Regions from separate parts of the Homo sapiens genome. Here regions 1, 2 and 3 are each linked to region 4. Evidence: promoter capture Hi-C in human tissues and cell types (Jung and others, 2019). All regions are on one chromosome and are shown on one strand. The core of a region is centred on a gene start or on the middle of the fragment in contact, and the rest is flanking DNA. Distances in the headings are between cores, read along the strand shown. Region 1 overlaps ERBB4 (erb-b2 receptor tyrosine kinase 4). Region 2 overlaps ERBB4 (erb-b2 receptor tyrosine kinase 4). Region 3 overlaps ERBB4 (erb-b2 receptor tyrosine kinase 4). Region 4 holds the start of ERBB4 (erb-b2 receptor tyrosine kinase 4).

Region 1 (5,740 bases), core at 419-2,918, 820 kb before region 4:
CACTGCATTCCGGCCTGGGCGACAGAGCGAGACTCCGTCTCAAAAAACAACAACAACAACAACAACAAAACAAAACAAAAAAAAACAAAAAAAAAAGAAGAAGCTTAATGTCCTTGTTTTCCCAAGAAAGCTTCAATTTGGCAAACCAAGCCATGTAAGCCAGGCCCATCAGAGATTTAAATTTTTTCATAGACAAATACTGAAGTGCTTTAAATTAGCCTGTAGTTTGAGATACACAAACTAATCTAAGAAAGGAAGACTGTAAGTTACCACATTTAAAGTAAACAAGTCAGGTAATTTCACACAATAGGTCTTCATGTTTAGCCACTTACTACAGTTTGGAGTTGACAGCTTTCAGGTGAATCACTATAAGGGCTATAGTAAAGAAAAGGGGAATTCTCTAATTCAAATTTTCCTGGTACTTCTGCTCTCACCCAACCCTCGGGCTTCAACCTAAGGACTTGAATAAAAGGGAAAGCACCAAAAAAACTCCAAGAAAGCATAGTTTTGACTGTCTTTGGGAAAGGCATCCTAATTTGAAGGTAGTAGATTAGGTAGTAGTATAATGCGCTTCTAAGAAAAGGGAAAATATCATTTAGCCCCATCCTGCAATACTGCCAAGCCCTCAGTTTTGTAAGGATGGTACATGGTGACATATAGGGTGACTTTAGATAAGAGGTTATTAGATGAAAAGGACTGGTGTGAATATTGAAATATTTAAGATGCAAAATCTTTGCTGTCTTGGAGTTAGTGTGTCTGTGACTTTAAAATGCTAATTAAGAGACATATTAAACACACATATATATACATAAAGAAGTCAAAGTACAATTTTTACTTTAATGGATATGAACGTGTTTCATAACAATGACTAGAATTGTGTTTTCAAAGCCTTTTTAAATAATCTACCCCTCTCGGCCTGGTGCGGTGGCTCACGCCTGTAATCCCAGCACTTTGGGAGGCCGAGGGAGGTGGATTAACTGAGGTCAGGAGTTCAAGACAGCCTGGCCAACATGGTGAAACCCAGGCTCCACTAAAAATACAAAAATTAGCTGGGCGTGGTGGATGTGCCTGTAATCCCAGCGACTCAGGAGCTGAGGCAGGGGAATCGCTTGAACCCGGGAGGCGGAGGTTGCAGTGAGCCAAGATTGCGCCATTGCTCTCCAGCCTGGGTGACAGAACCAGACTCTGTCTCCAAAAAAATAAAAAATCTACCCCCCTCATCCTTATATCCTATCTCTTCGATTGTTATAATGGCTCTGGAAAGAAAGGAGGGAAGATATATATATTTTTTGAGACAGAGTTTTGCTCTTTTTGCCCAGGCTGGAGTGCAATTGCATGATCCCGACTCACTGCAACCTCTGCCTCCTGGGTATAAGCATTCTCCTATCTATCTCAGCTTCCCAAATAGCTGGGATTACAGGTGTGTGCCACCACGACCGGATAATTTTTGTATTTTTAGTACAGATGGGGTTTCACTATGTTGGCCAGGCTGGTCTCAAACTCCTGACCTCACGTGATCTGTCCACCTCAGCCTTCCAAAGTGTTGGGATTACAGGCACGAGCCACCGTGCCTGGCCAGAAGATATAATTTTTATAACCCACATCTTAAAGAAGAAAAAATAGAGAACAAAAGGTGTTATTTAAAAATCACATGACTAATAAGGGAACGAAGCCACGATCCATAGCCACTCTAATCCCATGTCCCTTACACACATTGAGTATCCCTTATCCAAAATGCTTGGGACCAGATGTGTTTCAGATTTCAGAATTTTTTGGATTTTGTAATATTTGCATAAACATAATGAAATACCTTGGGGATGAAACCCTAGTCTAAAAACAATATTCAGTTTTTATGATTCCATATATCTTATACACATGACCTGAGGTAATTTTATATAATATTTTAAGTAATGTTTGGTGTGAAACACAGTTTGTGTACACTGAACCATCAGAAACAAAGGCATCACTATCTCAGCCATCAACATAGACAATCTGTGGTTGTTTGGCATCACCATCATTCATAACACTAAATTTATATACTACTGATGAGCAATCATATTCTTACACTTATTCACACATAAATATATAAAACTAAAAAAAAAAAACATGGTATACCACTAACACAGTGAAAAGATAATGTGTTTGGAATAACTAGGTATCAGAGTAGAATGACCAGAATACCTCCATCAGCTGTGAAACAACAACAACAACAAATAATGCAGGCTTTTAGTGTCCATCTATGATGCTGTGTTTTGATTAAAAGGTTACGATACACTGTTTTATTTTCTTAGGTAAAAAGAAACATCAGAAACAGCTGAGAAACCAGGGAATAGGTCCTACAGGGATAAGGGGGCTTTCTGCTGGATGGCTTTTTAAAATGTTTCCTCCAGGGTCATTTGCCCATTAACAGTGAATTTTGTCTTAGAAGTCTCTTTTTGATTTTATAAACTCCCATGACTTCTTGTTCTGTTATGAATGCACCATGCTCTAGTCCTTCAGTGAGCCCATAACACATTTTCATCATGTCTTCTGTAGATAACTTTTTGTGCAATGTTAAAAACATTTTCATTGTCACTATTACCACGATTGCTTTGATTCAGAGCGACTTCTGCAATTTCACCATCAGTCAATGAAGGAACAACTCGTTATCAATGTTAAAAACTTCTGTGATATCCATTTCTTCCAGTTTACTGATGGACTCTGAAGGATTATTTTTTTCTCACCTGACATAGGGAATCTTTCCAAGTAACCACCTTTTTCCCGAACACAGTCATAGGTCAGAGGTTGTACCTGGCATGCAAAACTGTGTCTTTAGTACTGTGTTCCAAGCATTGACAACAGCATATACAGCATCCTTCATGCTAAGCTTCTTTTGAAAACCTTCCCACACCCAGGTCTTTGTTCACTGCTGCTAGCATGCTGTTCAAGAAAGTGTTTTTGGCCAGGTGCGGTGGGTCACGTCTGTAATCCCAGCACTTTGGGAGGCCGAGGCGGGCTAATCACAAGGTCAGGAGATCGAGACCATCCTGGCTAACACAGTGAAACCCCGTCTCTACTAAAAATCCAAAAAATTAGCCAAGCATGGTGGCACGTGCCTGTAGTCCCAGCTACTCGGGAGGCTAAGGCAGGAGAATCGCTTGAACCCGGGATGCAGAGGTTGCAGTGAGCCGAGATCATACTACTGCATTCCAGCCTGGGTGACAGAGCGAGATTCTGTCTCAAAACAAAGAAAAGAAAAAAAAAAAAAAAAAGGAAAGTGTTTTTGTATTTACTTTTCATTGCTCTAAGGATAGTCTGTTTACATGGCTGAATTAATGAAGTCACATTTAAGGGAAAGTACACGGCATAAACATTGTTTTTGATGAGAATTTCAGCTGCAGGATGAGTAGAACGGTTGTCAAGGAAAAACAAAATCTTGCATTCAACATCCAGTCCAGCTTCCCAGCGATGAGCAGGAGGTGCTAGTATAAAATGTTTGGGTGAAGCCAATAAGAAAAGTTGTTCCCGGTAACCGATGCATTTTTAGTAGCATAATAATTGGTAAGAAATTCACTCCTTGGAAACTGAGGATGCAAGCTTTTGCCTATCACAGCAAGTTTACATTTATGTGTGCCTGCTGTATTAGCACATTCCAGCCCAGTCATTCTGTCTTTGGTATCCTTCATTCCTGCAGGGGCTGTCTAATGAACTGTGGTCAATGCCTTTGTGGAGGAGCAATGTTAAAACAGTGATGTTTCATCAGCATCACAGAAATGTCCTGGTGTCAGATTTTTATCAGTGATGACCTTGGCAAACTCAATGATGAATTTCTCCACTGCTTTGTGATCAGCAGATATTTTGTCACCGGGAATCTCTAAAGATTTAACGCCATGTCTTTTCTTAAATTTTTGTGTCCAGCCTGTTGAATATTTACAGTTCTCTTCAACTTTCAGTTCACCGTGCTGGATCTTTGCCTGTTTGATGATCAGCATACCATTATGTGGCTTATGTTCATCTACATGCTGAAAAATCCACTCTTTCGGTACACAAGCAAGATCTTTATCATTAGCTTTATTCAGTGCTGTTCTATTTTTCATTAACTTCTGTTATTCATTTTCAGCATAGAACAGTTTATCCTTCTGTTTCTTCAGGTCACACAAAGTGTTCATACCAACACTGTACTCTTCTCTTCTCTATGATGTTGCATACTTACACCGTTCTCCCATTTCTCCAAAAGCTTGACTTTCTAAGCTACACATAAACATAAATGTTTCCTCTTATTTTTACCACCCTTACCTGGAGGGATAGCTGCAGGCCTTTTTGACATTTTCAACAATATCTCAACACCACAAAATGGCACTTTGGAAAACCTGCCATTGGTGTGTCTGGCCTGCACACGTGCCATTTTATTACCTGTGGGTGTGCTTCCCTTTGGAAATCTGGGTATGCAAGGAAAAGATGTACCACAGTCGAAAGGGGCTGAGAGTGTGTGTATGTGTGTGGTTTCTTTCCCTCTTGGGAACACTAAACAAACTGTGTTGTGTGCATTTTGACTGTGACCTATCACACGAAGTCAGGTGTGAAATTTTTCATTTGTGACAACATGTCAGCACTCTAAAAGTTTCAAATATTGGAGCATTTCAGATTTTGGATTTTTGGATTGTGGATGCTCAGCCTGTACTTCCTACTGTATCACATACACAAAGTGAAGTAAGTCACATTATATGTATAGCACAGACTATAAATAATTCTTTTAAATGAGTATATGGGCATATATAGTGATTTTTTTCAGCCTTTCCAATAGGAAATGTCCCATTGGTTACTCAAAGCAAAAAAAAAAAAAAAAAAAAAATAGAGTCAAGTAAATATCAATATATTATCCTGAATACCTGATGAAAGTTAAGTCGGTCCTTTTGAATCCTCAGGATGTTATCAATTTGTTTAAGATCCTTTAACATACCCTTTATATATATACATGTTTTATTTAAGGTTAATTTGCTATTAAACATATATATATATATATATATATATACATGTTTTGTTTAAGGTTAACTTGATATTAAAAATATAATGCTAAGTATTCTAGTTATAAATAAGGAATCAGAAATAATTTTAGGTAAAAATCCATTGTTATTAGAAGCAGATCCTATTCATTACACAGCTTGCTGCCACTTAACTAATTACTTTTTTGGAGAAACAGTATGATAGGCAAAAATACTGTGGTATAGTAAAAACAGAAAGAGGTTTTTGTTTGTTTGTCTGTTTTTGAGATGGAGTCTCTCTCTGTCACCCAGGCTGGAGTACAGTGGCACCGTCTCGGCTCACTGCAACCTCCACCTCCCAGGTTCAAACCATCCTCCTGTCTCAGCCTCCAGAATAGCTGGGGCTACAGGCGCCCGCCACCACGCCTGGCTAATTTTTGTATTTTCTGTAGAGACGGGGTTTCACCATATTGGTCAGGCTGGTCTCGAACTCCTGACCTCAGGTGCCACCCACCTCGGCCTCCCAAAGTGCTGGCATTACAGGTGTGAGCCAGTGCGCCCAGCCACAGTAGGAGTTTTATAACCTCAAACATGTCATCCTTTTGCTATGAAACTTTACACAAATCACTTTAAAGTTTTGGTTTAGTTTCTTTATTTATAAAATGGGGGCAATAGTATCTATACCCAAAGTACTTATAATATTCTTACAAGTTTCACATTAAAATAAACTTACATAAAATTCTTTTGATTTCAAATAATGACCTAATTAATTTGGTTAT
Region 2 (5,897 bases), core at 2,251-4,750, 680 kb before region 4:
CAAAATTCTCTATTGAGTTAAATAAGGAATGTAACTAACTAAAACTGGGAACAGAGTTAATAAAATCATGGCTCACAAAAAGCCATTTTTTTTTTATTTTGGCCAGCAATAAAATCCTTGGCTAGCGTTTCTCTGTTAGCTATAACAAAAACCTAGTTGTAAATAAGAAATAAAATTTTGAGACAGATGTTAGCTGTAACATAGAAATATACTTTCCATTAACAATCTGGCATGTTGTATGGTGGTTCTACTCCAAAAGGCAATGTATCTTTTAATTATTTATTCATTTTTTTTGAGATGGAGTCTTGCTCTGTCGCCTGGGCTGGAGTGCAGTGGTGCGATCTCCGCTCACTGCAACTTCCAACTCCCCGTTCAAGCGATTCTCCTGCCTTAGCCTCCCGAGTAGCTGGGATTACAGGCATGCACCACCACACCAGGCTAATTTTTGTATTTTTAATAGAGACAGGGTTTCACCATGTTGGCCAGACTGGTCTTGAACTCCTGACCTCAGGTGATTCACCTGCCTCAGCCTCACAAAGTGCTGGGATTACAGGCATGAGCCACTGTGCTTGGCCGGCAATGTATCTTTTAATGTAACTTGATAATATTGTCCTCTGCCTCTGCAGCCTTCCCAGACATATTACTAAAATTAATTCAATTTTAGCAATCAAAACTGTAAATGAACTTAGTTATTCAGCAATCAATGAAATCTAAATGAAGAGTCACTGTTATCCAATTCCTCATGCATTCCCTTAAAATCTCTTTCTCTAGAAAAAGTCTTTAGATAAAGGCAGTTCACAAATATATGGCAACCCTAACTTATAACTTGATTATCATGTTATCACATCCCTATCTGGTTCACATAAATTATCTAACCTTTGTCAAATTAGAAAAATATTTGGATTCACATTTTTTAGGCTGAATTTCATGAATACTGTAATATACCTATTTTGTATTTTATAAGCTTAGATAGTAAAATCATTCAGGTAAATGACTATTCTTTAAAAGATGTGTTATGTTTAATAAAGTTTAATATTAAAATTCCTAAAAGTTAATTTTAAGTTCACTCCAGAGTTATGGAGCTATGTCTTCCTCTGTAAGAAATAATACAAAATGAATCCTGACTTTGTAGTGAAACAATTCCCTCGTTTTATTGTAGAAATATTTTGGGGGTGGTGACTCTGTGATTGCTTTGGAATTAAAGCAATCTGCTCATTATCTCATATTGGATATGAAAGCTGAAGGCAAGAATAATGCAAAGCACACATATAATTAGTAGGTTATATACCCAGAAGTAATCAGTTCTGTAAGACACACTTCTTCAATGTCCAATAAGCAGAAATGATTAGCAGCAATGAAAAAGAAATGTAAATGTTTTCCATTAACTTCTTTTCCTATTTCTGGTAGAAAAACCACAAATAAGTGATTCATTACAAACGTATTGGCAATGGTAAAACAAAGAAAAATTGTTAATGCAATCATTAAATTTATCTTACAAGTTTCTGTAATTGTTTAAAAACATAAATGGTGGTTATTATACGCCAAAACATCTCTTGTCATTCATTTTAAATATTTGTCAAAATCAATTTAATTCTGGAAGTCTATGTGAGAAAAGTCACAAGCCAACTGCTATTGTAAGTCGCAAACTTCTTAGAAGAGCTCTTTCATTACTAAGTAAAGTATACCATGATTGTATGATACTGGACATAGAGAAACAAGATTTGCCTTTCACTCTTTGTAATTTGACTTGTTTGTGCTTTTAAGTTACTCCAATTATTTTCTAACTTTCAACATTATTCTGATTAAGTCCTAGCTACAGAGTCTTCAAAAGACTTTTATAAGCCTAACTCTTAAATTGCTGCTTTCTTTGTTTTAGCAAGCACCAAGGAACTAATAAAACAAGTTTACTCATGTCAAATTTTAGATTAAAAACAGATTGCTCCTTTTATGTGATAACAGAGTTGAAGCAGGATGAAGTCACCTCAATTATCATTGTCCCTGGGTTTTATTGTACACTACTCATTTAAGACAAATAATTACCTAGGCCTCTTAGCTTGCAAGTGATTCACACATTATAAGTCTGTAATGTTCTGCATTTCTGCTCTCTTGCTAGTACAATTAAAGTTTATTGACAGTAAATATAGTAAATTTTAATTTTTGCCATATAAATACTTAGTGCTATGTTACTGACAGAAAGATGATTTCCCAAACCTTAGGAAATACTTATGCAATGTTTTATTTAAATATTAAAAATAGGAATATTCACTCCTACATTAACACTAGCATGTTATAATACTACCATGGTGTTAGGCTCTATAATAACCATTAGAGAATAATTTGGCATGAAAATAAATCATTAATTTTATTTCTCTGAAATAAAAAATACAACTCAAAAAGAATTAGGAAAAAACAAAGACAATATATTACATTATATATATTTTATATATATATAAATATATAAATATATTTAAATATATTATATAATATAATATATTATATATTTATATATTTATATATATATAAATATAATATATTTATATATTTATATATATATAAATATAATATATTTATATATTATAAAATATATAAATACATTATATATATTTATATATATATTTTATATATATATATATATATATATATATATATTAAAAAAAAGTAGTTTTTTTTTTTTTTGAGACAGAGTCTCACTCTGTCACCCAGGCTGGAGTGCAGTGGTGTGATTATGGCTCACTGCAGCCTCCACCTTCTGGGCTCAAGCACTCTACCTCAGCCTGATGAGTTGCTGGGACCACAAATTCATGCCATCAGTCCAGGCGTGTTTTTTTTTTTGTTTTTTTTTTGTTTTTTTTTTTTTTTTTTTACTTTTAGCAGAGAAGAGGTTTGGCTGTGTTGCCTAGGCTAGTCTCAAACTCCTGAGCTCAAGTCATCCGTCATCCTCCCACTTCAGCCTCTCGAAGTGCTAGGATTACAGACACGAGTCACTACACCCAGCCCAAAAACAATATTGATGGAACCCAAACACAATTTGAATATTGCCATTAACAATATAAAGAAAAACCTATAAATATTGGCTAAAGACTAACAATGAATTGTTTTTATAATTTTCTTCATCTCTCACAGGTGATACATGCACAATATGTTCACACACGAAGTCTTGGGTTATCTTTAAGAATAAAAATACTCATTAAAAAATTACAGAAAATGTATTACTCTAGAATGGGTGGGATTTGAGGCTTGGAACAACAAGGAAGCTACAACTAAACAAACAACTCAGTGGATGAAATGAATGTGTGTGATCAGCAAACAGCAAGGAAATGAAAAAACTAAAACAGAGGATTTGGAATGCTGACCAATGGGGTTATAAAATGAAATGCTAATTTTTTCACTACTATTAAAGCCAGCAAATGATCTTTTAAAAAATTTTAAAGCATAAATGGGTAAAGTCATGTGAAATAAAGGACAATTTCTTTTCTTTTTCTATATTCAGCATTTTAAATTCTTTAAAGTTGTATCCAAGTTAATATAAAACATATTTATTCAAAAATTTTATTTAACCTTGCTGTTACTAAAATATTTAAAGACACAGATAAAAGGTAGTGCCATATCTCTCTTAAAAATCTCATTCAAGATTCTGATTGCATGACATGTAGAATAATCATTAGATCTAGCAAGTGTTTATTTTCAAGCTAGAACTCAAATTTTCCATTTTAATTTTTAACATATTTATCGGCTAAAGGGATAAAAACAATAACAAGTTTACAATAATTGTATGATGATAAAATCACAGCTAATAGTTTGTTAAAGCCAAATTAATGCTATAACATCTGTTTCTTATCAGCAGAAAATAAGAGTTTTTACACTATATTTTTAATTCAGTAGAGAATATATGCTTTGTTCTCAATTTTTTTCAAGCATTGTCTTAGATGAGAAAAGGCAATTTTCCAGAGATTCCTGTTCAAACATAACTTCTACAGAATATGTTCATAAGTCAAAACTCACTAGATTAATTCATGGAGACAACACTGCATAATTGAAACTCTTGTCATTGCAATCACTGATTAAAACTATTTTCTTGGCTATATTTTTGTGAAATAAAAAAGGAACTTTTAGAATAGGTGAAGAAGACTTCTAAATATATAGTAAAGATACTTTGCTCAAAGAATTTAAAATGGAATGAACTGCATAAAACTGATATATCAGATCATTATTTTACTTAGAAAAAAGGGAATTTAATATGGTTCTATCTAAAAATAAAGTGTGAGTAAGATAATACCATAAAAGGAATTGTGCTGAAGAAAAATAGTGAGAGGTGAAGCCAGTTGGACTTCCTGGGTCGAGTGGGGACTTCGAGAACTTTTCTGTCTAGCTATAGGATCGTAAATGCACCAATCAGCGCTCTGTGTCTAACTAAAGGATTGTAAATGCACCAATCAGCACTCTTTAAAAATGCACCAATCAGCACTCTGCGTCTAGCTAAAGGATTGTAAATGCACCATTCAGCACTCTGTCTAGCTAAAGGATTGTAAATGCACCAATCATCACTCTGTAAAAACGCACCAATCAGCACTCTGTGTCTAGCTAAAGGATTGTAAATGCACAAATCAGCACTCTGTAAAAACACCCCAATCAGCACTCTGTGTCTAGCTAAAGGATTGTAAACACACCAATCAGCACTCTGCAAAAACGCACCAATCAGTGCTCTGTGTCTAGCTAAAGGTTTGTAAATGCACCAATCAGCAATCTGTAAAACGAACCAATCAGCTCTCTGTAAAATGGACCAATCAGCACTCTGTAAAATGGACCAATCAGCAGGACATGAGCAGGGACAAATAAGGGAATAAAAGCTGGCCACCCCAGCCAGAAGCAGCAACCCACTCAGGTCCCCTTCCATGCTGTGGAAGCTTTGTTCTTCTGCTCTTCACAATAAATCTTGCTATTGCTCACTTTTTGTGTCCGCACTACCTTTATGAGCTGTAACACTTACCACAGGGGTCTGCGGCTTCATTCCTGAAGTCAGCGAAACTAAGAACCCACTGGGAGGAACAAACTACTCCAGACGTGCCACCTTTAAGAGCTGTAACACTCACTGTGAGGATCTGCAGCTTCACTCCTGAAGTCAGTGAGACCAGGAACCCACCAGAAGGAAGAAACTCCAGACACATCTGAACATCTGAAGTAACAAACTCCAGACACACCATCTTTAAGAGCTGTAACGCTCACTGTGAAGGTCCGTGGCTTCATTCTTGAAGTCAGCAAGACCAAGAACCCACCGGAAGGAAAAAATTCCAGACACAGTGGGATATGACATCCTAACTCAATATATGAACCTATAGGGGTCTAACATTCATAGGTTTCTGTGTATTCAGTGGAAAAATTGAGAGGATTCATCATTCAATTATCTTTTCTTTCCTCCTTTTTCTTGACCCTCTGCTTCATAGAGAGGGCTTGGAGGTAGGATCCAGAGTGAGCCTCTGTTAGAAGCATTGAGAGAGAAGCCAGAAGGTCCAGTCCTGCTGGCAGTAGCAAGGGGCCAAGACCACTAGGCCTGCCTGTGTTCTCACAAGCCCCACTACCATCTCTAGATTTTCTCATCACCCAGTCTTGAAAAATCTGTGCCTGCCCCTTCAGTAGCTTTGCCATTTCTTGATTCCTTTCCTCTGTGGGTGTTCTGGCACTGGCCCTTTTTCCCACCTCTCCTTCTTTTCTGGGATGCTGCTGCTGTTGCTATCTCCTCTATCCTTCCATCCTTGGCATCTGGCCCTTAATCCTCAGACTGGGTGGGAGCCCATCCCTTGTCTTTTGGGATTTGCAAACTCCTACCCTGAACCCACATGAAAGTGACTGCTTTCCTGCTTCTGGGGATCTCTTTGGCACTTCCCAGGAACTCCTCCACC
Region 3 (5,972 bases), core at 2,208-4,707, 640 kb before region 4:
TCTTTTCATCTTCCTGTAAGATCACAAAGTATAATTTGCAAAAAAAAAAAAAAAATCTGCCTGACATATCCTTTGCAAATAGAAAAGTCAAAATTGGGAACATGAAAGCAGACGTGCAAAATTAGATTCATATACCCACTTTGTTTCCTGTGCTGGAGCCTCTGAATTAGACCCAGCAGGCCTTCCCTCCTTGACCCTGCCTCAACCAGGAAAAAAATAATGTGCAGAATCTTCCTTTGGTGGTCTGACCCAACCCTTCTTAAAGATACCTTTTATCTACTTTTTTTGTTCTTTTTTTAAATGGGGAAGATTCTGTTTGCTTTTAATTAATTGTTTTGTTTTGTTTTTTGCTTTTGTTTTTAGACAGGGTGTCATTCTGTCACCTAGGCTGGAGTGCAGTGGCATAATCATAGCTGACTGTAACCTCAAACTCCTGGCCTCAAGGGATCTTCCCTTCTCAGCCTCCCATCTCAGCCTCTCAAGTAGCTGGGACTACAGGCACACACAACAGTGCCCGGTTAATATTTAAATTTTTTTTTAATTATAGAGAAGGGGTCTCACTTTGTTGTTTACACTGGTCTTGAACTCCTGAGTTCAAGGGATCCTCCTGTCTTGGCCTTCCACAGTGCTGGGGTTACAAGTATGAGCCATTTCACCCAGGCTGATTTTTTTTTCTAATAAGCATAATAAACTTTGAAATGAATAGATCATATCAACACATTTTAAGAGTTAGTCAGTAGCTTTCGAAAGCCTAAAAAAGATATTATAATATTTATTTTTATTTTCCATTAGACTAAATATGCCTATTTTAAATGTGATACTGCCAATTCTCTCTTACACCAAATCTTCTAGAGGAAAGTTTTTATCTAAGATAGTTTAATCATTTTGATAAAACACAGCACAAAGAGAATGCCTAATGATTGAATTAAACATGTTATTTCATTGATATTTCTTTTATATTTAATTTGTGCCTTTAGCCATAAGAATTAGGAAGTTACCTGGAGTTCATTTCCACAAATGATATTACAGAGGCATAATAGATTTTCTTCAAGTGTCTATACATTATGAATGTAAGGTTACTATGTATCTGACAAAAGTAATTTGTATAGAAGTAATTCTAAAAACTATTTGACGTCTATTCAAAAACCATTTTCTGCACTTAAAGTGAAATGACTGTAGAAATTTGCTAACCTTTCATGACACAGTGACTTAAAAATCCATTAAATGTTTTTAAAAAATGCACTGCTTGACTCTTTTGTAATTCTAAGAGCAAACAGCTATCTGACATTTTCAGGATCATTAAATTAAAAAATGATAAGGAAGGAAAATCATTAACTAATTTATATTTCTCTTCTAATGGGAATAGAATTAGTAATTACTTTTGCTGTTGAAACCTCCTGTAGTCAGTCACTTGTGTCCCAGTAGCATGCCTATCATTCAAAGTATGGGACCTACAGACCTTAAGTTACAAAAGTTCACAGCTGTATTTATAGACCAGTATTAAAACAAGTGGCATGGAATCTTCACACTCAATCGTCCAAACTACCATTCTCAAATTTCCTTCTCCTATGTTGCACTTACTGGTTTTCTTTTTATAGACTTCAATAATGTTTTGCCCAGTACCTTACCTATTATAACAATAAATATTTTCTAAATTAACACATGAGTCAATTTGGGCATTTGAAAAGAAGAGAAGCAAGACAAAAACTCAGATGTTCAAGACTTTCATTCAACAACCGTGGGATTCTTGGAAGTTATAATAATCAGCCATTACAACTCAAAGTTTTATCTAATTTATAGGAAAACTTATGAGCACTCAAGGAATTAATTCCTTCACATTTCATCTGATGTACTTGTTGAAATGACTATAGAATTCATGGTTTAAAATGAAGCTATCTTCATTTCCTCTATCTATTTTCTCTACGGCATTAGTAAACTAACTGCCATATGAAAGTCACATTTATTTTATTTCAGTTCTAAAATCATATTTTAAATTCGGGCAATTCATCTACCAGTAACATTTTATATGACATTATATTTTTTCTAATAAAAGTTGAATTGAAGAGCAAGTTAACAGACTGTTACCCCTAAACAGAAATTACGAAACCAATCACAAAGTAATTTATTAAATTTTTAAAGTAATACTTTCTTGTCAAGCAGACCTGTAAAATTAGACAGTACTGTTTTATAGTACTTACATTTGATAAAAAGTTTGTTCATGTCTCTAGTGATATGTTATTGTGATTTACAGGTTATAGAATAAATTTTCAAGAGGGGCCAAGACTAGCATTCTAGTTTGCCCATATAATTCCTTAATAGAAAAAGTAATGGTTCTGGTAACCTGAGCTTGCCACTAATCATCACTTATTTTTCTTAATGATAGATTGCTACTTCCCTAAGCATAGTAATTTGATATGTTGAAAGTGGTTACTGTTAAGTTTAATATATTAATTTGTCTTGACTGGCAGCTAATAAAATGCTATATTATTGATGAAAAATTAATATCTAAAATTGGAATAAACGGAAAGGCAAACTTAACCAAACTTATAAACTCAGTATTGTACTTTTAAGTAAGTTTCTTGAGCACCCCTCCTGTTAAAACTAGAGTGCAGTTTTAATGCCACTCTTCCATCAGTAGACAAGGTGTCTTATGCCAATTCCCACAGAAGGGGCTGCTCTGCACACAGTAACCCGAGGCCTCAACTTTCCATCACAGGCAGTATGCCAAATATAAATACCCAGGAGTGTCCTGAACTTTAAAGTGATTCCTAAATACGAGGCTCATTTACGAAGAACTTCAAAAACATTAAGCGGCTCTTGCATTCTCAATTAGAAATTCTCCTCATACTAACAGGGACTTCTGAGCGTATCAACACAGAGAAAGCAGTTGTTCCCATGTCTTAAAATAGCACAGATTGAACATTTAACCTTTCTGCTGCCCAGTCAGAGTCTAATTACTATTTTATGTTTAAACACACACACACACACACACACACACACCATTTTGCCTTCCTCATAATAGACTAGAACATAGATGAAAGTAAAACAAACTCATTGCTCTTTAAAAGTACAAACCTAGAAAAAAAAAGGTTCCTGTTTGCAGGAATTTGAAAGAATGATGTCAAACCAGTCAAACTCAATTTTTCTATTGAAAAGCGGGTCCTTCAAAGTAACTCTATTTTAAGTAATTACGCTTTAGTAAAGAGTTTGCTGACTTTTTTGATTATTCATTATGAGAGATAATTTTATTTTCAAATCCTAGTGTTATATTTAGCAAGTTACTAAGGCTCTATACAGGACATGGACTCAAGGCACTTAGAATAAATGTCTCCCCAAGACTTGTCACATGTCCACTGTTTATAAGTAACCCAGTTTATTTACTAGATACTGGCAATGCCTCCTTTCAGAAATGTAAACACTCAATTACTGAATTTTAATCAGAAGGATTATTCTACATAGAGTGGCATTTTCTATTTTCCTGAGCAATATTTCCCAGGCTATCATCTCCTCTATTTCAATATCATATATTAGGATTCAAGACCATCATATTTACCCCTTCCACTATGAATGGAGTGAGGCAAAACATGTTTATTAAAAATCAGTTAAATAGCTCAGCTTGATTTTACAAATATTATATACTATAAAATGTTTTCTATTTTGAAAGAAATTTGTATGTTATTTTTCTTTCATTTGGACATGTAAATAAATGATGATGGTGAATGAGAGCATAGGCTTCTCTCAAAGAGTGGTAGGATCATGTTCTTGATGCCAAAAACCCAGAGGATATGTCTTAGGTCTGTTTTTGTGAGCCCTGTAACCTTGAATAAGTCACTTAGCTATTTTGAAATTCATTTTCTTCACCTGTAATGGCATTTGCTCTCTTTTTAAATAGAAATTACATTCAATAAATGAGCATTTTAATGTGATAGATTTAAAAAACTGTCTGGTAAGTAGATGCATCAGCTCCTTCTGGAAGCATGACAGGTGCATGGTGTTACACTGTGTGTGGGCGCTGATCCTGGCAGGAATAGTCAGTGACCTGCTGTCAGAGCCCACGGAGATAACCTGAAGGAGCGCTCCAAATGTCCTTCTGCAAGCATTACCCACCTGGGGAAATTTCTCATCCAATGACTACCGAAGGGTAACTCTGCCATAACTCTGCTTTTCACTGTGGCCACCTCACCACTTGCACATGTTTATCCCATCTCAAGATGTTATCTGTGGTGTTTTTCAACATCATCATCTCAGAGATTAAGGCATCGCATATAACGGGAGTGTTTATTACTATGCATACATCTGGCATGTTAGGACTTGTCAAGGAAAATTGACAGCCTAATAGCTTTTTTCCTATATTTATCATCCTTGATATTAAAACTCCAGTTAAAAATGGCACTTGATGAATAAAGAATGCTGCACCCATGAGCATTATTTGTAGAGTCAAAAAAAATTTGCTTTTACATAAACATTAATGTACTTAATTTACAATGTTTTTAAAAAATTGCAACTCCTTAGACATGGTGTGTAGGTATAGATTCTTGGGTGGCTGTGTTATAAATTATGTACCACTTTTATGTTCTGTTATTTGTCATAATTTTTCTTATGTTTTGAGACTCACAAAATAGTTTTTTTTTTAGTTAGAAAGCTTTCCAACCTTCCTAATTCATATACATGGCAACTCCCTCACTTCTCTCCAGTGTTGCTTTGCTCATTTGTATGATTGGTTTAAATATGTGATCTCTTCATTGTACTATACATGCTTCTTTGAGCAGGGATTACCCCTTGTTCTCTGTGCCTCCACAAAGACTATTTTGCGAAAAAACAAATAAAACACCAATCAATGACATTTTTATTAAATTATAACTAAATAGAAAATGTTTCTAATGAAACGGTATAACGGTATTTTAAGGGGAGTTTTTTCTAACAGTAAACACAGAAATAAAACAACAAGCAAGCATTTTTAATATATTATAGATATTAACATCTGTAATATATAACAGTGGAAAAATTTGGTTCCTATTTCACACCAACTAATACTGTACAAAATAGTTATTGGCAGCTAAGAACTAAATTATAGTGAAGTGATAAAAAATAATTTAAACACATTATTTTAAACTAAACATCTTTTCTATGTATATGTAAGAGAAAAAAGAGCTATTGAAAAGAAATAAATTTTCTAGAATGAGTTTTGATTTTTTCCTTCTTCTTTCCTTCTGAATTCTTTAAATATCTGGGCAAATAAAGTATTGAGAAGCAAATTTACTGGTTAATAAAGTCTCAAAATTGAGTAATTTTCCTTCTATGTATATTTTTTTCTTAAAAATTTTGTTTTCATATCCTTCTATATACTTATCAGACTATTTTGAACTATAAAAAATCATAGATTATAGAGTCAGATATTTTAATCAGCATTACTGGTAATGAAATGGCTAGAAATTAAGAGCAACACAAAGCAAAAACTATATTTAAAAACAACTCAGAAAGTACCATTTTACTATTTAATATATAATTACTTTTCTTTAGAAAACTAAAAATCTTCACTCAGTAAAACTAATTATCTCTGTAATCTCAATCTATATGCCATTGTTTCACTGAAATATATCACAAATTAATTATGTCAAACTTTCTTCTGCAATGTCTCATATATAGCTCTTCTATTGCATTTTATTCTCCCCTCTTTCAGCTGATTTAAGTAACTTAAAATAAGTCTCTTTCCCTCCACATTTGCCACAATGTTTCTTTCTTCAAATCATCAGATTGAGTGGCAAATAAATGTTATTACTCAGTTCCAAAAGTACTGCTTGAATAGGCTCTCAGTAATTAACCAATATGTGATGAATTGAGAAGCATGAAAACAAACTTTGTATTTACATCTTAATTTTATAATGTTAAATTAAATATCATATTGAATGAAGTATATTTTAATGTCCTACAGTTTAACTAAATTTGATCAGCTTGACTTAATCCCTGGAAAA
Region 4 (5,949 bases), core at 293-2,792:
AGCTACTTCCCACGCTCCAGTCACCATCCCTGGATGGTTTCGGAAATCTCTCTGGCTCTCCAAAAGGCACCCCTTGGCCACGTCAAGACACCGGTCCTCCTCAGACCTCTCCCGTCCCACTTTCATCCCCAGGAAACTCTAGTGTCAGAAACTTTGAGCTCCATTGCACTGCAGGTGCTGTCATTAGTCCTGCAAGCCGTGGCGGGCCAGCCCCGCCGCGCTGCCTCTCGGGGTCAATTAGCCCTTTGCCTGCCCAGGTACCTGGGGCTCGAGCTCTCCAGCAAGCAGTGGCCGCGCACCCATCGCCGCTGCCGCTTTCGCCTCGGGTGGATCCAGTGACCCGCAGGCTCGGCAGCCTGGCCGGGCAGTAAACAGACAAGTTTGAAGGACTCCGGCCAATAGCAAGTTGAACTACAGGAAGAACTCTTCCCGGAGCCAAACACGGCAACCGACGGGAAGGCCGGGCTTCTGGCTCAAGTGTGCCAAGCCTTTTTTTTTTTTTTTAAGAGGTCAGGCAGGCGAGTAAGCGCCCCTCAAGTCAATGGGGAGAGGGCTCCGGGAAGCCGGCGGAAGAGGCCCAGAACTCCGGGCCCCGGACCGAGGCGCGCCCGCCTGCTGCACTCCGGCTGCCCGGGCTGGGCGCGAGTTGCGTCTGACGCCACAAGGCTCGGGCGACTGGGGGCGCAGCGGTCGCCAGCAGCACACACAGGTGCAAAGCCCGATTTTCTGAGCGCCGCTCTCCACCGCCCTTCGGGCTCGGCTCGGGAGAGGCCCAGCCAGCACCGCCCCAGGACCGCGGCCCCGGCGGTGCGGGTTCTGCCCTCGGGGACCCGACAGGGACAGAAGAGTCTCCTCTGACTGGGGATTTGGGTCTCCCATGTCCCGAACAACAGGCGCCACCAGAAGGGATCCCGCTTAGGCTCCCAAACAAAACGCTCGGGAAAGAAAAGCAGGGGGTTAAGGAGAGAAAAGAGGGACTCAGAGTGATTTTTCACGATAAATAAAGCAAACGCACACATACAGGGTAAGTTTCAAATGGAAAGAGGGGTGACCGAAAGCCCAGGGAAGAGGCCCCGGTCAAGCGGTCCCTCCACGCCTCCCGGGATGGGTGAAGAGGGCAGGGGAGCCACTCGAGGCAGCCCCGCCGGCGGCTGCAGGTTCGGCGACCGGAGTGCCAGAAGGAACCCACCTGACTGAGAATCGCTGGGCTGGACGGTCCCCGCCGCCACGAGAAGGCTCACCCAGACCCAAAGTCCTGTCGCCGGCTTCATTTTTTGGAAGTCTCAGATCCCGTGCTGACAATTACATGTCCAAATGGCATATCCCCCTTTCGGGCACGCGGAGGAGATCCCCCAGCCGGGCGCGCGTGGGGGTGCGAGGGGGGCGGGCGCGGCGCGCGCGGTGTGGCGACTCCCAGGGCGGGCGACCGAGTCCGCGCCCGCGGGTCCAGGGCCGGGGCCCGAGGAGGGGGCGAGTGTGAGCGCGTGTGTGCGCGTGTGGGAGTGTGCTCGGTGTGTGCGCTTGGCGCTCTGGGCCGGACTGTGCAGCTATTTCCCCGCGTGAGCCTTCGCTTGCTCGCTCCCTCCTCACTTTCTCTCTCTCTCACTGGTTGGTCAACAATAAAAAAGGAAGGGGGGCGAAAGGTTTCCAAAAAAAGTTGATTGCAAAGAGGCGGTAGGTTTCCGGCCTCTCCCCGCAGCCGGGCTATGTTCTGCTCCTTCTTCAGTTTCCTTGCACCTCCAGTCCAAATCGGGAGGGGAGCGGGGCGGGGGGAGCTTCTCGCTTCTCCCCGGATCCCGTCCTTCTTTTTCCTCTCAGCTTTCCTCACACTTGTCCGGCGGCTGCGGTAATTAAAGCTCCGAGCGTCATTTCCAGCGCTCCGCGGTCTCCAGCTGCAGCCCACAGAGAAATTAATAAGACTCCAGAAAAAAAAAAAAAAAAGGTGCGGGGGGCGGTGGGAATAAAACAACCCTCCACGCAACCAGGCCGGCTCTGCTCAGCCGCGCAAACCCCGCCCATGCTCTGACCCAACTAGCCACGCCCTTCCCCCCCCCTTCCAAAGGGAAATCTTATTGGCTCAGCCACTCCCCAAAATCCTGGGCCTCCGGAGTTGGGAAAACACCTGTCAGGGAAAGGGAGCCTCTTGGTGGGGGCAGGGGAAGCTGGATTTAAAGGGCTCACCGAAGCCATGCACTGAAGCACTCGTCTTCCCTCCCTGGCAGAGGCCTGGGACAGCTGGCCTGCTGAGTGGACGGACCATTGGAGGGCCGCTTACGGAAATTTTTTTTTTTTTTAAACAAGAAAGTCAGCATTTTCTCCGTTGCCCCACGGTGCTCATCTACAGACAAGACTTTCCCTAGAAATAAAAGTCAATGTTGCTTTCAGCAAAAAGCCTCCGCCCGCAGTACTCTGCCACTCATGGTCCACAATTAGAAAGTACTTTAAAAGTGTGTACAGCAAGTAACTGGTAGCCCCTGAGGATTAGGTAGTGGTAGGGGTATAATCACCGCCCCGCCTCCCGCCCCCAGTTATGCCATCTCTCCGATTACTCCCACATTTCTAAACTGACCAACATTGAGCCAAACTAAACTTTCACATTTATAAAGGCATATCCTTTGATTTTTAGATTTTATGTTTTTTTTTCACCTTTGGAGTTCATTCTTATTAAGCAGATTCTAGTCCAAAGCCACTGATTTGATCTTAAAGGGCTAGAAATTGTCCCCAGCCTGAAAGAATTTAAGGAGGCCACATCAGAACATAATTAACCTTAAATGATTCTGTTTATTCTACAGTAGACCCAGCTTTAGGCCCCTTCCTTGTCCTCACTCTGCACATTCATGGTCCCTAATCTGGAGGTCATTGCTAGTTACGAAAGTCTCTGACCTTTTCTGAATCTAAAATATTCTGGGACTGGGTCATTTCAATGTACATATCCCTTGCCTTTTACAGCTCTGAAACCGCACCCTGGCAAGGGCCAGAATCTGCTGGGGGTAGTTATTGGTTTGCTATTTGTACAGGCATTCTATGTATGAATCACTTTCCTTTTTTGGTTTTTCTAGAAGCAGCAAATATATAAATAAAAAGTATCAGGGGAGCTTAAAAATCAAACCACCCTGCCTTTCATTTGAGACCTTGATCTCCATTTCCCACTCTCTTATCTATAGCCCCATCCCTTAAGAATTTCCATGGAGCTGAGAACAGATAGGAGGTACAGATGCCTGAAGCCTGAAGCTTTCCCTTTCTTAGACCCACAGCAAATAACAGGCTCCATGAAGACGCCCAACAAGCTGAGCGTGCGGTTTTACCAGAAGCAGCCTAGGGCAGAGAGGAACTAAGCCTAGAGCAGATGACGGAGACTTGACCAGAATGGTACTGATTGCAGCAAAACTGTGCACACTGCTCTTTGGGATTATCTTTGTTTTCTTTTCTTTTCTTTTTTTTAATTACTCTTTCTCTCTGTTTTCTCTTCTTTCATTCAATCTCTTCTCATTCCCCTTGTCTTAAATCCTTTTGAAATTCTCAGGCACCTCTCTTCCATAAAAGCTACTTCTTTTCAAAACTTACTTTCTGTCCCTAGAATGACAATTTAAATGAGAAAAACATCTTCCTTTTGTAAAAGTTTAAGTCTCTGTAGTAAAAAAAAAAAAAAAGTCTGGTTTCTGATGGCAATTATGTTGCACGAAGTGAAGGAATGGGCCAGGTGTGGTGGCTCATGCTTGTAATTCTAGCATTTTGGGAGGCTGAAGTGGGAGGATCCCTTGAGGCCAGAAGTTCCAGACCAACCTGGGCAACATAGTGAGACCTCAACTCTACCTTTTTTTTTTTTTTTTTTTAATGAGCTGGGTATGGTGGTGCACACCTGTAGTCTTAGCTATTGGGAGGCTGAGATGGGATAGAATTGCTTGAGCCCAGGAGTTAATAGTTACAGTGAGCTATGATCATGCCACTGCACTCCAACCTGGGAGATAGAGCAAGACCCTATCTCTGAAAAAAAAAAAGAGAGAAAAAGAAAAAGAAAAAAAAGACAAAGTGAATAAATGAGTTGCATATTTTCGCTTAAATTGTAGGGCAAAAACTTCATGGCCTGAATATTTTGGATTTTTTTATAGTTGTGCCAATTATGTTAGTTTTTGTTCCCCTGTCAATTTTATAGCTTTTCTATAACAGAATATCTTCTATATGCCCTGCTCTCACCCATATCTTCTAGAATAATTCTTGACAAAGGAGGATTTTCCATTAATATTCATTGGTTTAAAAAAACACTTAGTATATATTTTTGTGGATATTAAACAGCCCATACAAGGATTCACCTATTACATTACCCAACATACCCACAGTTTCCCTCTAATTCTGTTTGTTCTGCCTTGATCCCCATTTTACTCATTCTAACATTGAAACAACAATTTTAGATATGTGGCCACAGATGGGTATCTGAACAGCAGCCTATAAAATGATTTGACATCAAAGCTTTTGCCAAAAAAAGCATGATATATTTGATGGTGCCTTGTCTACCCAATCAGATTCCAGCTCAGATAATTTGAAATGTAGACAGGAAGGTAGTACCCTGTATGGGCAAGCCAAAGGATGAGAAAGAAGCCATGAGCTCAAGTCAAGAATCAGTTATTTCAGTGTCTACCCTCATTTGCTTCCCATCTCATCTAAGTCATTATAAGAAACAAATACCAGAGTAGGGAATATTTACTAGCTGATGTAGAAAGGACATGATACTTGGATTGTTAGAGGCCAAGATGAATCTCTGTATTTCTTTACTTTTCCATATAGCTTGATAATAAATCCCTATTAGGGGACCTAACTAGAATGTGTTGCTGTTACTCAGAACCTGCATAAAAATTATGTGGGTAACACAATGTGTTACTTAGCAAGCCACGGATGAATACCTGGAATTACCTGCTGAGTGCCCATTTTCCAGAAACAGCCCTTTCCTCAGTTCTACATGTTTAACTTGGATCTACCTCCGTGCTACAACAACTCCCACTCCCTGGCTCTAAGTTGGATCACTCAAAACACCAAGTTGAACCAAGTAAAATGCCTTGCTCACTGTTAATTGGATGGGACTTCCACTGAGTCCTTTATCTGGCAGTTTTTGTAAATGAAATAAAGAGTTTATATCCAGTCTTTCATGGATAGCTTTTGAGATCTAAAACTCCACATCTAGTTTTTCTTTCCTTCTATATAGGAATAACCAGGCCGTGGTAAGAATGAAGCTACTGTTTGAAAGAATCAAAATCTCAGATGGATCTGGAGAATATTCAAGCTCTTCCTGTGGGTTAGTTGTTCATGTCCCCTTTTGCCTTAAGCTAGTTCAATTTTCATTGTTGTTACCTGAAACTAGAACAGTGTGAAATGGGACTAGAACTTCTCCAACTTGAGAGAGATCATAGAGGTCATTATGCCCTTGAGAACAATATCTTGCTATGGCCCATATTCTTTTGTTTTCCTTCCAGATCTCTCACACTTTCCCTTGGTTGAAGCTGTAACCCCAATATAGAGATGGCTTTGTCCTGTGATGCTCTTTCATATCCCCTTCTCCTCTTCATTTCTTCCATTATTAACAGAATTCAAGGAGAGTCTTGACATAATGAGTGACAGAATGCTGCTGTTTGGAGAAAGGAACACATTGAACTCAGAATTCAGTGTAAAATTATTATACATCCCTGACTTTGTCCCAGAGTCTTATAGTTCATTCCAATCTTCAGCTTGTTTCTAAGACTTCCCTAAAGGTCATATTAGAGCTTGCTGCTGTAAATATTTTGCGATCGGCCATAAATATAAATTTGTGACAAATGTCAAGTAAGAAAAGTAAACAAGACTCTATTACAAACCAGTTATCTTCTCAACATTTAAAAATATATAATTATAATTTCACTTCTTGTGCCTTATCTTCCTCCTCATCTTTCTAAGTCATCTTGTGATCATGAGCAATTCAAT

Evidence for each region. Contacts are between HindIII fragments. The study calls those that stand out against the background at their distance.
Region 1: a fragment that was not itself captured here is called in contact with the fragment with the promoter of ERBB4 in region 4 in 1 of the 25 tissues and cell types used here (lymphoblastoid cells).
Region 2: a fragment that was not itself captured here is called in contact with the fragment with the promoter of ERBB4 in region 4 in 2 of the 25 tissues and cell types used here (dorsolateral prefrontal cortex and lymphoblastoid cells).
Region 3: a fragment that was not itself captured here is called in contact with the fragment with the promoter of ERBB4 in region 4 in 1 of the 25 tissues and cell types used here (H1 embryonic stem cells).

The regions. Positions count from the first base shown.
Region 1 is chr2:211,716,635-211,722,374 of GRCh38, forward strand. All of the region lies in intron 7 of ERBB4 (erb-b2 receptor tyrosine kinase 4), which reads right to left. Among named protein-coding and RNA genes, the nearest start is that of MIR548F2, 710 kb to the right of the region's middle. The HindIII fragment of the contact is 3,105 bases long and covers 117-3,221 here.
Region 2 is chr2:211,858,507-211,864,403 of GRCh38, forward strand. All of the region lies in intron 3 of ERBB4 (erb-b2 receptor tyrosine kinase 4), which reads right to left. Among named protein-coding and RNA genes, the nearest start is that of MIR548F2, 560 kb to the right of the region's middle. The HindIII fragment of the contact is 6,124 bases long and covers 439-5,897 here.
Region 3 is chr2:211,897,402-211,903,373 of GRCh38, forward strand. The region is part of intron 3 of ERBB4 (erb-b2 receptor tyrosine kinase 4); the gene reads right to left. Among named protein-coding and RNA genes, the nearest start is that of MIR548F2, 530 kb to the right of the region's middle. The HindIII fragment of the contact is 7,476 bases long and covers 1-5,972 here.
Region 4 is chr2:212,537,260-212,543,208 of GRCh38, forward strand. It overlaps ERBB4 (erb-b2 receptor tyrosine kinase 4), which reads right to left and starts at 1,543. Exons shown (of 28, transcript NM_005235.3): 1 at 1,190-1,543. The coding sequence starts at 1,271. RefSeq lists an enhancer at 74-574. The HindIII fragment of the contact is 8,258 bases long and covers 1-3,849 here.